Linked DNA regions of Homo sapiens: region 1 is linked to region 2. Evidence: promoter capture Hi-C in human tissues and cell types (Jung and others, 2019). All regions are on one chromosome and are shown on one strand. The core of a region is centred on a gene start or on the middle of the fragment in contact, and the rest is flanking DNA. Distances in the headings are between cores, read along the strand shown.

Region 1 (5,494 bases), core at 1-2,500, 46 kb before region 2:
AAATAAACAAAAATGTAAGAAATGTGATGTTCTGAAAGCTTAATTCTACCTTGTAGCCTCCAATGCGATGCTCCTGCTTAAACTCCTTCCCGTTTTTCAGCCACCGCATGGTTGGCATTGGGTTCCCCCCGGCTGGGCAGCGAAACTTGACAGTGTTGGCCGCAGGCACAGCATGGAGCCGCTTTTCCATCTTTTCTGTGTTGGTCCAGTATGGTGCTCCTGTTTTGGAAAACAGTATTAGAATGTATACTGATGGACAGCTTCCCCTCCATGAGTAAACTCCAAACAGGTAAGATCATTTCGCTTTGCATGTAAATGCTAGGCTATTTTTTAAATCTTTGGGTAATATTTACATTTGGAAAATATTTTCAGAAGTCTAATCCAGCTGGCTGAGCAGAAGGTCCCAGAGAGGGATGGTTCATGTCTACCAACAGGAAGAAAAAAAAAAAAGTGTTTGAGGCCCCTTCTCTCTCTTGTTCTTGATGCCAGAAAATAATTTCATGCCAAATCATGTTTTAAAATGCTATTTTATAAACATATGAACAACATATACAACTGCGACAGCTCAGTCCTCCAAAAATAGATCATTTTGGATTGCCACACCTATTAAATGATCACATATACACACTAGTAAAAGCAAGTTGTTCTCAAAAGCCCTATCAACTTATCCATTGGAGCCTTACTTTAAGGGCAATCAATAGTATAAATTGTCATTCTAATATAATAAAATAACCCAGAGAGTCATTCGTACATTTCTCAGAACTTATATACAAACAAACAAACAAAAAAAAAAACTGTATCACTAAATACATACTAACTTTTTTAATTAAAAAAAAAATTTCTTTCCAATGGTGGTTATGAATGCCATAACCCTACCACCCCACCTAATGATAACTTAAGAGGAGGCTACCAATTAAATGATATGTTAAAGTTATGCCCTCCAGATGTCCCCGAAAGTCATAAATACAAGTGATTTTTTAAAGTCAAGAAAAAAGTTTTAAATCACAAAGTAAAGTATATTTTTTCTAAATAAAAGCCACAACATCAAGCCAGAATACCACTGTAAATTCTTCATGTCTGCTAATAATGGCGAATGACTACTACCGACTGAAAGCTTCTACTTTGCCAAGCACTGCTCAAAGAGTTTTTACATGTCAACACATTAATCTTCACAATGCTTCAACAAGAAAGGCACTATCATAATCTTGGCTTCCAAGTGGGGAAACTGAGGCACAGAGCAGTTAAGTAACCTGCCAAAAGCCACAAAGCTTGGAAGAGGTGCAGCCAAGATTTGAACCACATCAGTCTGATGCCAGAGCCCACTATCTTCAACCCTACTCTCCACTGCTAAGAAGATGCAGCTTCTCCACGAGGTTGGAATCCGTACCTTCCACCAATCTGATGTTTAAGGCTGAAGTCCGGGAAAGCCAGCCTGGGTCAAGGCACACGTCCTCCTTTTTTCCTGTCCAGAACCTCTACTGTACAGCAATTTAACTATTCACATATATGTTTCTGTCTTAGCAAAGTAGTAACCAAAATCCCTGTATTCCTCTGAAACAGCCACCAACAGGGACTTGAACATTGTAGAAGGCTAATTCATAACTATGCTTATTTCTGATGAAGGCTAGACTGAACAACAGCACACACAGTTCACAAACCCAAGGCAAAATGGCCCTAGGCAGGGGCTTTGTCTCTGATGCATATTTAGAAGTCTCCTCTATTCTACGGGTGTAGAGCACGTCCCTGGGGGATAAGGATCCCCTTCACTTAGCAGCCAGACTCAGGGTACAATCAGGAATTGAAATCGCTGCATCCAAACACCTACCCCAATTAGCCTTCACGCTTGCTCTTGAAACCTGTTGTCAAAGGTAGAGCTGAGATTTCTTTACAAGGCCATGCTGTATCTTTATCCCTGTGCTTATCTAAGTGTCAAAGTGATGGGATTTAGGTGCACCCATATGATGCTGAAACAGTGGGAAGAGGGGCAAAACTATCGAAGCCAGGAGAGAAGAAGAGGAAGGAGGAGAAAGAAGGAACAGGGGCTGAATTCCTTCCTTTGAATCCAGTTGCATTTGCAACCTGGGTAGACATTTGGCTCTGGGTGTTGAATGCCCATAAACGCACCTATTCTTTTGAGGGTTCACCAGGGAGTACTTGATTCCCATTCATCCCAAGACTCTCAGGGCCTGGCATATACTGAAACAATTTCAATAAACTTTCATTTTAAAAGCTTCTACTTAGAAAAATCCATCCACAGCCACAGCCACTAAAAAGAAACCATTGAGAGCACAAAACAAATAATGAGCTTTGTCACTACACAAAGACGTTTACAAATCTAACCTAAATGAAAAGCATACCTCATGCTGTCAGGTGTCTGCACTCATGTCATTTGTTTAAGTAAACACAATAGCCTATTCATATGAATTAGCTAAATATTAATGCAGTAACTCTTTCAGATAACATCAATTACTGCTGAGCTGATCCTGTGGAATGTCTTTTCTTTTTTACATAAAAGAAATCAACAGATATGTGCTTACATACCATTAGGCATGATTTTTATGTTCCCTAAAAAAAAAGTGGGATTTAGCTGAAGGAACTAGGAATGTTGTTCTTTTCTGCCCTCACTGGGCCAAGCCATGGGTGAGTCTGTAACAGCCCAGGGACCGGCCCAGACCACGCGCACCTATGCAGGCCTGACCTGTGGCAACAGCCCATGGGCAACCCGCACCTTTGTCTTGGTGCCTCGGGAGTGATTTAAGGACTAAGGTGAAATAATGTTGCTGGAATTTCTGGCAGGTAGCCACTTCCCTCGGGTGATATTTCAATCATCAAAGCTACACCTATAAAATCTGCTTCTGCAAAACACAGACACAGCCATACAGCAGGGTACGGGTGCAGTGCTGCTCATCTAGGTCTCAGAGATCCAAGGTTGGGGGCCACCATAAAAAATCCAGGCACAACCCTCCACCCAGGCTCCCATGTGTGACCAGCCCCACCCTGGTGACTGCTAACATCACACCAGCACACAGCCTCTCTTTAAATATCAAGCTCACAAATATGTTTAATGAACTTGATACGGGAGGGGAGGAAGTCTTTTTTTTTTTTTTCCTTTTTTTGAGACAGCGTCTTGCTCTGTTGCCCAGGCTGGAGTGCAGTGGCGCGATCTTGGCTCACTGCAAGCTCTGCCTCCCGGGTTCACGCCATTCTCCTGCCTCAGCCTCCCGAGTAGCTGGGACTACAGGTGCCCGCCACCATGCCCGGCTAATTTTTTTTTTTTTTTTTTTGTATTTTTAGTAGAGACAGGGTTTCACCGTTTTAGCCAGGGTTTCACCGTTTTAGCCAGGATGGTCTGGATCTCCTGACCTCATGATCCACCTGCCTCAGCCTCCCAAAGTGCTGGGATTACAGGCGTGAGCTACCGCGCCCGGCTGGAACTCTTTTATAATTTTACAATAGCTCTTCCTAAAATACACTAGCTTTATGTGAACCTTGAATCTGTAAGATCTAGAAAAATAATAATACTATAAGATAGCCCTACTGTGTTTCCTTCATCAGCAGCCTTGTGTCCTCTGTATGTTTTTGCAGTTGGAAAGGACACACATGGAAATGCCAGGGCCTCCCAAGAACTGCAAAACAGCTGGAGACAAACACCATCCAGGCACTTAGAACGGGCTCCTCTACCTAAGGAAGCCCCTTTTATACCAAGGCTCGTGAACAGCTTTAACAACTCTCATTTGGAGAAGGAACTCATGTACCAAATTAAAGATCTACTGAAGCAGAGATCAGCCTTGTCCATAGTAGATGCTTAACAGGGATGTTTACTCAACAATCTTATCTAAAATGAATCTGCAGGCCAGGCGCGGTGGCTCACGCCTGTAATCCCAGCCTTTGGGAGGCCGAGGTGGGCGGATCACCTGAGGTCAGGAGTCCGAGACCAGCCTGACCAACATGGTGAAACCCCGTCTCCACTAAAAATGCAAAAATTAGCTGGACATGGTGACGCATGGCTGTAGTCCCAGCTACTAGGGAGGGTGAGGCAGGAGAATTGCTTGAACCCAGGAGGCAGAGGTTGCAGTGAGCCGAGATCATGCCATTGCACTCCAGCCTGGGCGACAAGAGCAAAACTCTGTCTCAATCAATCAATCAATCAATCAATCAATCAAATGAATCTGCAAGCTAAGGACACATGAGTTTCCCTGAACTTTATATACCTTAGAGGTGTATGAAGAGCGGGCTTAAAGTCAGCTAATAGAGACGTGTGGTATAAACTTCCAATGGCATTCAAAATGAATGACACTAATCCACCTGTAAAGGAAACAAATTAACCTCGATGAGAGGTATGGTTCCTTTGGCTCTGACATTCTTAGACCTTCTGATGTAATAGGTACCACAAGAATGATGTTCTCCTAATCATCAAATACTAAGAATGAGCTGGTTAAAGAACAGTCAGACCTAGCCACAATCAATCAATCCCATCCCATCAATTAAATCCCATCACCAGCATATAGCATACCTACTCATTATCATTTTCTACACTGTAACAGTCATTGCACATTAGTAATAATATTAAGTAGAATTTTACTTTAAGACAACAGAAGTCTTTTAAGATGCAATGAGTTAAAGAGAGATTTATAAACCCACAGAAACTTCCTTCAAAGGACTCCAACACAGCCTTTATTATTCCCACCCTAGAGCCAAGTTATTCTTTCTCAGGGCCCCTTCTTTGTGATAGATGTGTGCTTCCAACATTAGTGTCTCTGTACTGAAAAATACTCCTTCTGATGCTGACCAACAACAGTAGGGCACCTGGAGGGTACAGCTGGAGTTGTCTTTAGCCTATGGAGTAGGCACTCAAGCGTTATTGGATGGATGGATGGATGGATGGATGGACGGACGGATGGATGGACGGATGGATGACTATTAAAAGCTTTAGCTATAAAATGAAGTAGTTGCACTGATTAAGGTCCCCGCCAGTTCGAACATACTTTCCAGGTATCTATGTGCTAGACAGGTATTGATTCTGTCAACAAATGGTAGGATTATGTGATTTCTTTTGACCCTGCAATTTAAACTTAGTGAGAAACCATAGGCTGCTGGGCCTGCCCCCACCAAAACCCTTGCACATCTCAATGCTGACACCTAAGGTTTATAATCTACTCTCTCTCTCTCTCTCTCTCTCTCTCTCTCTCTCTCTGGAACCAAAAAACAGAGAACACGGCCCAATGATTTAAAGGAGAAACATGGAATCATATTACCAGGCTGTACCAAAAGAGACCTCGGTGACCATCTGGCCCAACGACTGATGATATCAATGTCATCCAGAAAGGTTAAGTGATTTGATCAAGGTCACACAGCCAGAGGCCGGGCTGAGGCCAGGCCCATCTCCAGCTCCCTGAGCAGTGTTCCTTCAACCACTCCAGCCTGCCCTTTGAACTCTCCCATGGTAATTAAGTCAAAAGTTCAAGATTTATGTGAGCCGCGGCCACCAATGACT
Region 2 (5,767 bases), core at 254-2,753:
GGTGGAAGATTTACAGGGATTTGGGACCAGGGAGACAATGGAGTTTTAAATGTTGATAGCGTTTCACACCAAACACATAATGGGTGCCCTGAGTTTGAAAGCAGGTTTGCCTTTAAGGGTAGGTTTTATTGAATTGGGAGAAAGGAAGGAGGGTCTGGAGAACGGTCTGCAAGGGAGCGGGGTGCGAGGAGAGCGACGGAGGCTGGTGGTCCCCGAGCGGGCCTCCTGCGCCAGGTCCGTGGTCCGCGAGGGTCGGAGCCAGCGCCACGCAGGGCCCTCGGCTTTTTTCCCCAGCGCGGCCCCGTGGCCGAAAAAAATGAGCGCGCAAGTTAGAACTCGCCTGCGCTTTCGACATCTCCCAGCCGCTGCGGCAGAGCAGGCAGGCGAACTAGAAAAAGTCGGTCCAGTTCGCCCCCTAGCCCCAGGCGCACTGCGCTCCCTCCAGCGCCGACGGCGGCTGCGGGCGAGGGGCGCCCAGGCACCGGAGCCGTCGCCTCCCCAGCAGTGCCACCCCTGGCCATCGCCACCCCTACGGGATGTCACCGGCCCCACCCCAGCGGCCCCCTCCCGAAAAAGGGGTCTCCGCAGGGCCTGGATGGTACGGAAGTTCCCAGGACACACGGATGGGGCACCTCGGAGATGACCCCGGGAACCGGCCTGCGGGGCTGTGCCACGGGCAGGCGAACCTTCCGCCCGTCTGCTCTGGGGTCGGAGAAACGCGCCCAGTCAGCGGGAATGCGCCCGCCAGGGTTTGACAGGGAGGGGGGCGTCAACGCCAGAAGCAGATGTCAGCATCTGGATGGGGGTAGCAGAGGCAGAACTTCCAGAACGCCGGCCGTCAGCACGCACCCACCTCCCCCATCACCTATGCAGCCACAGAGGGAGGACACGGAGCGTCCTCCACAATGCTAGTCCTTCCGCGCCCCCCGCCCGGAGGACGGTGCACCCGGCGTCCCGGGCTCCCGTGGCGCCCACGTCCCCGGCTGGCGAAGCTCCCCGAGGCGTCTTGCGCGGCGATTACCTTGAATGGCAACGCTCCTCCGCGACCTGTGTTGTCCCCGCGCCCCGCGTGGGTCGGGATGGAGAAAGCGACGAGCCCGGGGTTGCGGGGAGCAACTCCAAACGCAGAAGAGTGGTCCTTGGGTCTTCGCCGGCGCCAAGCCTCCCGGGCTTCACGCGTACCCCAGGCTGCGGAGGAGCGCGGGCATGACGCCCGCGGGCTGCCCTCGGATTTGGGGAACGAGAGGAAGAAAGGACTCAGGCTTGGCGTTGCCTCCACCAAACTTTGCTCGCGAGTTGCGAAGGCTCAGAGCGCGCAGGCAAGCTGCGGCCTCGGGGCCCCCGGGGCTCGCGGCCGGCCCCCGCCAGCCCGGAGAGCAGTCGCCGCGCCGGGCCAGGTACGCCGCATGCAGCCCCGCGGCGCCCGAGCTTTGTGGCGGCCGCGCGCGCTCCCTCGCCCGCTCCGCACCCGCCGCCCGCCCGCTCGGCTCTCCACCGCGCTCTCCTCCAGCCGCCGCCCGCGCCGCCGCCGCCGCCCCCGCCTCCTCGCGGCGGGTCACGCCCCCACTGAAACCCGAGCCGTTTCCTGGACGGCGGCGCCCTCTCTGCCAATCAGCGCCGCGCGCCCGGGCCGCCCCGAGTCCCGCGCGGCTCCCGACGCCTCCGAGCAGCCGGAGACACCGGCCCGGGAGGCGAGGGCTCGGCCGCGATGCGGCCGTAGGGATGCAGCGACAGCCTCCGAATAAGGCCTGGTCCCGCGCCCCGCGCCACCTCCTCCCTCCTCCCCGGGCGAGCGAGGCTGGCCAACGGCTCGCTGAGCGACTGCGTTACGTTGTTTTATGTCAAGTTAGAAAACAAATGACCGAAGGCTCTAACCCTGCCCTCCCGCTAAAGAGACTTTAAAATGCGCCTGCTTGATACTGCGGGGAGGGTTGCCAGGCAGCTGAAGCTTTTGGAGGAGAGGAAGCCACTTGGAAATGTTCGCAGGACATTGCATGTTTCTGTCCTTCTAAACAATAGAAATGAGAGGAAAAAACTGAATATTAATGGAGGCCCTACTATGGGAGGGTCACACTACATAGGTGATTCTATTTCATCTGCCCAACCACCCTGCAGAGTACTATTCCCAGTTTCTGATAAGGAAACAGGATCAGAGAGGTTAAGTAATTTGCCTAGGACCACACAGCTGGCTACTAGGACAGCCTGACTTTGAATGTGGCTCTCTCAGAAAAAGCCAAAATTGCATCAAAAAAAAAAAGTGTTTAATAATATATGTTTGGATTAATAAAAAGAAATTCAAAGGAGTCTAAAGACAACTCTACCATAAATAGACCTTGAACAAAGTAATTCCTCCCTCTGAATCTTAGATTAAAAATCATAAATGCAAAATCTGATTCTTCAACTGCACACCAAGCTGTAACTGGTTAAAGTTCCTATGTCCATTTACCTTTTCACTAAGCCGTGTCTTCGGAATAATTTATTTTAAATATGCTTTTTCTCCCTCCTTATTCATCCAGCTCCTGAGCAGCCGTGCTTAAGTTCAAGACCATATAGATTAAAACCTTAATTATTTTTCTTTAGAAAAGGTCACTAAACCCAGAAATGCTTTAGAATCCTTTTGAGGCCTGAAGATAGATGAAGCATTGAGAACAAACCTGACTTGGAAAACAGACTTTTCCTGGATTTAGAAACATATTTGCACCTGTGTCACTAACATTGCACCCTTCATAACATTTACAAAAATATTTTTCAAGGTGCTACATGATTAGAAAATCATTTTTATTCACAAATATAGCACAGAAAACGTTTATGCAAGTTATTTAAAAGCCACACAAGTAAGAAATCCATTTAACTGCCTCAGGCAAAAGGCTATAACATTGTATTTTGGAAATTTGATAGCAACAAAATAAAAACTGGTTCTTAAGCAAAATTATCCCTCTATATGCTTGGTGGGAGGGTATGTTTTTGGTCAAGTCCTCTAACCTGGATTAGCCCCAGAGCCTATACATTAACGGACACCTCAGCCCAGGTTGACACTTAGCCATTCACTCCCACACGGGTTGTTCTGATAGCAGTATGTTTTCAAGTTCTCAGAAAAGGGATGCAGCTGAACGTGTCTGCCTGCTCGCAGGTTGCCACTTACATCTTTATATTCCCCACCAATGGGAAACTCGAGTGTCTCAGGACAGTTCCTTTCCCATCCTACACCGCATCCATCAGCCATTGAAAATGCTGTTAACACATTCTCACATAAATTAATGGTGCAGGAAGCCGCTGTCCCTATCCCCCATTCATCAATAGCTTTATGCATGTTGAATGGAAAGGAAGCTTTCCGCTGAAAATGACAAATAAGAACACCTACTTTCATGTCCAGGCACAGTTTGCAGAATGTATTTTTTATAGAAATGAAAAGACACCAATCTATCAAAAGCTCCTTATTCCCTAAAGAGGGCTCATATATAAGGGACTGAAACCCACAAGACCACAACAGGAAACTCTTCAGTTTTGAGGAGGGGGGGGAAGTATGTTTAGAATTATTTTTAAAAAATCAATTATGTCCCCATATTTAGTCTTCAAGTGACCTCAGACCATCCAGGAAAACCTTCACACCACTGAGGCTTCTGAATGAGAAAATAATCTCTTTACAGTTTTTTCTTTTCTCTTCCCTCTTCAAGTGGCTGGAACCCCTTTCGTCAATGGCCTCCCATGAATGGTGTTGCTAATAAAGCCTATTAATGAGCTTCCACGGCGGAGTGTGAATAGGTAAATAAGCCCCAATCTGTTGAGGTTCTGGGGCAAGGGCAGAAAAGCCAGTAAGAACTAAAGGTGACAGTTTGAACTGAACTGCGAACGCCAGCACCAGGTTTCAGCTGAAAGAACCGCCAGACAAGGACACATTCACAGTTCCTCCACCCCCTACTGAGGTCTCTTTTCTTCGCAATTTTCCCCCCTTTACAAAATGTCTTGAGTAGTCACCCTTTTTTTTTTTCAAAAGCCCTCGAGACGCCCTTCTTTTTTCACTCTAGTAATGATACATCAATGGGAAGGAAGAAAAATGAGGACACCAGAACTCCGATGCCCCCAAAAGTTTCAAGAAACAAATTGTGCTGCTAGCCCGTTGGTGATGGGAAGAGAAAGGAGAAGGGGGTGGGAGCGCTCACTACCATGGGCCTCTCTCCTTTGAAGATTTGGAATTTTTCTTTTAATAATTTGTTTTGTAATGGGTGGCTGTTCCTTCACTCTATGGAAACGTTAGATGAAATAAAGGCTGCTGACATGAAGTGCTCATGAACCTTCCCGGGTGGATCTGAGCTCCCTGCAACACCAGGAATTTCATTCTCTAAGCTACATCTCAATAGTGCCCTCGGCATAAAAGAAGCACTCAAATGGAAGGATATAGAATAGTCGGAGGACTATGATAAGAGTATTTACTTCTGGGTAAGGGGAGGGGCTGGATGCTGTGACAGCTCCAGCCCATCTTCAGGGAGCTTGTGGCATTTAAGTGAAGCAAAATCATTGATCCCACTACTGAACAGCATCAATGATTTTAAACTTAGAACTGGGCCTGAATTCCAAAGCCAAGGCTTCCCCGGAGACAAAGTCCTTCTGGAAGTATAGCCTCACTTTGAGGCAAAGGGGAATGGCTTTCTTAAGGTGAGAGGCTGGATGCAGCTTTCTTTACTCAATAGCTTTGTGACCTGTGGCCGGGCGCAGTGGCTCACGCCTGTAATTCCAGCACTTTGGGAGGCCGAGGCAGGCGGATCACTTGAAGGCAGGAAGTCGAGACCAGGCTGACCAACATGGTGAAATGCCGTCTCCACTAAAAACACAAAAATTGGCCGCTTGTGGTGGCGCATGCCTGTAATCCCACATACTCTGGAAGCTAAGGCATGTGAATCGCTTGAACCCAGGAGGCTGAGGTTGCAGTGAGCTGAGATCGCCCCACTGCACTCCAGCCTGGGTGACAGAGCAAGATTCCCTCTCAAAAAACAACAAAAAAAGGCCTGGCATGGTGGCTCACACCTGTAATCCCAGCACTTTGGGAGGCCGAGGCAAGTGGATCACCTGAGGTCAGGAGTTCAAGACCAGCCTGACCAACATGGAGAAACCCCGTCTCTACTAAAAATACAAAATTAGCTGGGCATGGTCGTACATGCCTGTAATCTCAGCTACTCAGGAGGCTGAGCCGGGAGAATCACTTGAACCTAGGAGGCAGAGGTTGCGGTGAGCCGAGATCGTGCCATTGCACTCCCGCCTGGGTAACAAGAGAGAAACTCCGTCTCAAAAAAAACAAACAAACAAACAAACAAACGCTGTGTTACCTCAGGCCAGTTGCTTGAGTTATCTGAGTTTTCCATTTTCTCAGCTGTAAAATGGGGAAAATAATGGTTCTTATTTCCTGGATTTTTTTTTTCTTTTTTTTTTTTGAGACAGAGTTTCACTCTGTCACCCAGGCTGGAATGCAGTGGCACGATCTCGGCTCACTGCAGCCTCCACCCTCAGGGTTCAAATGATTCTCCTTCCTCAGCCTCCTGAGTAGCTGGGACTACAGGTGCCTGCCACCGCGCCCAGCTAATTTTTTGTATTTTTAGTAGAGATGGGGTTTCACCATCTTGGCCAAGCTGGTCTTGAACTGCTGACCTCGTGATCCACCCGCCTCGGCCTCCCAAAGTGCTGGGATTACAGGCGTGAGCCACCGCACCCGGCCTCTCCTAGATCTTTAATAGGATCACTAAGAGGATGAAATGAGTTAGGACGTGACAAGCAC

What was found. Contacts are between HindIII fragments. The study calls those that stand out against the background at their distance.
Region 1: a fragment that was not itself captured here is called in contact with the fragment with the promoter of FGFR2 in region 2 in 1 of the 25 tissues and cell types used here (hippocampus).

The regions. Positions count from the first base shown.
Region 1 is chr10:121,551,241-121,556,734 of GRCh38, forward strand. FGFR2 (fibroblast growth factor receptor 2) reads right to left here. Exons shown (of 18, transcript NM_000141.5): 5 at 50-219. Among named protein-coding and RNA genes, the nearest start is that of FGFR2, 44 kb to the right of the region's middle. The HindIII fragment of the contact is 4,656 bases long and covers 1-3,578 here.
Region 2 is chr10:121,596,941-121,602,707 of GRCh38, forward strand. FGFR2 (fibroblast growth factor receptor 2) reads right to left here and starts at 1,504. Exons shown (of 18, transcript NM_000141.5): 1 at 1,022-1,504. RefSeq lists an enhancer at 1-710. The HindIII fragment of the contact is 2,645 bases long and covers 1-2,637 here.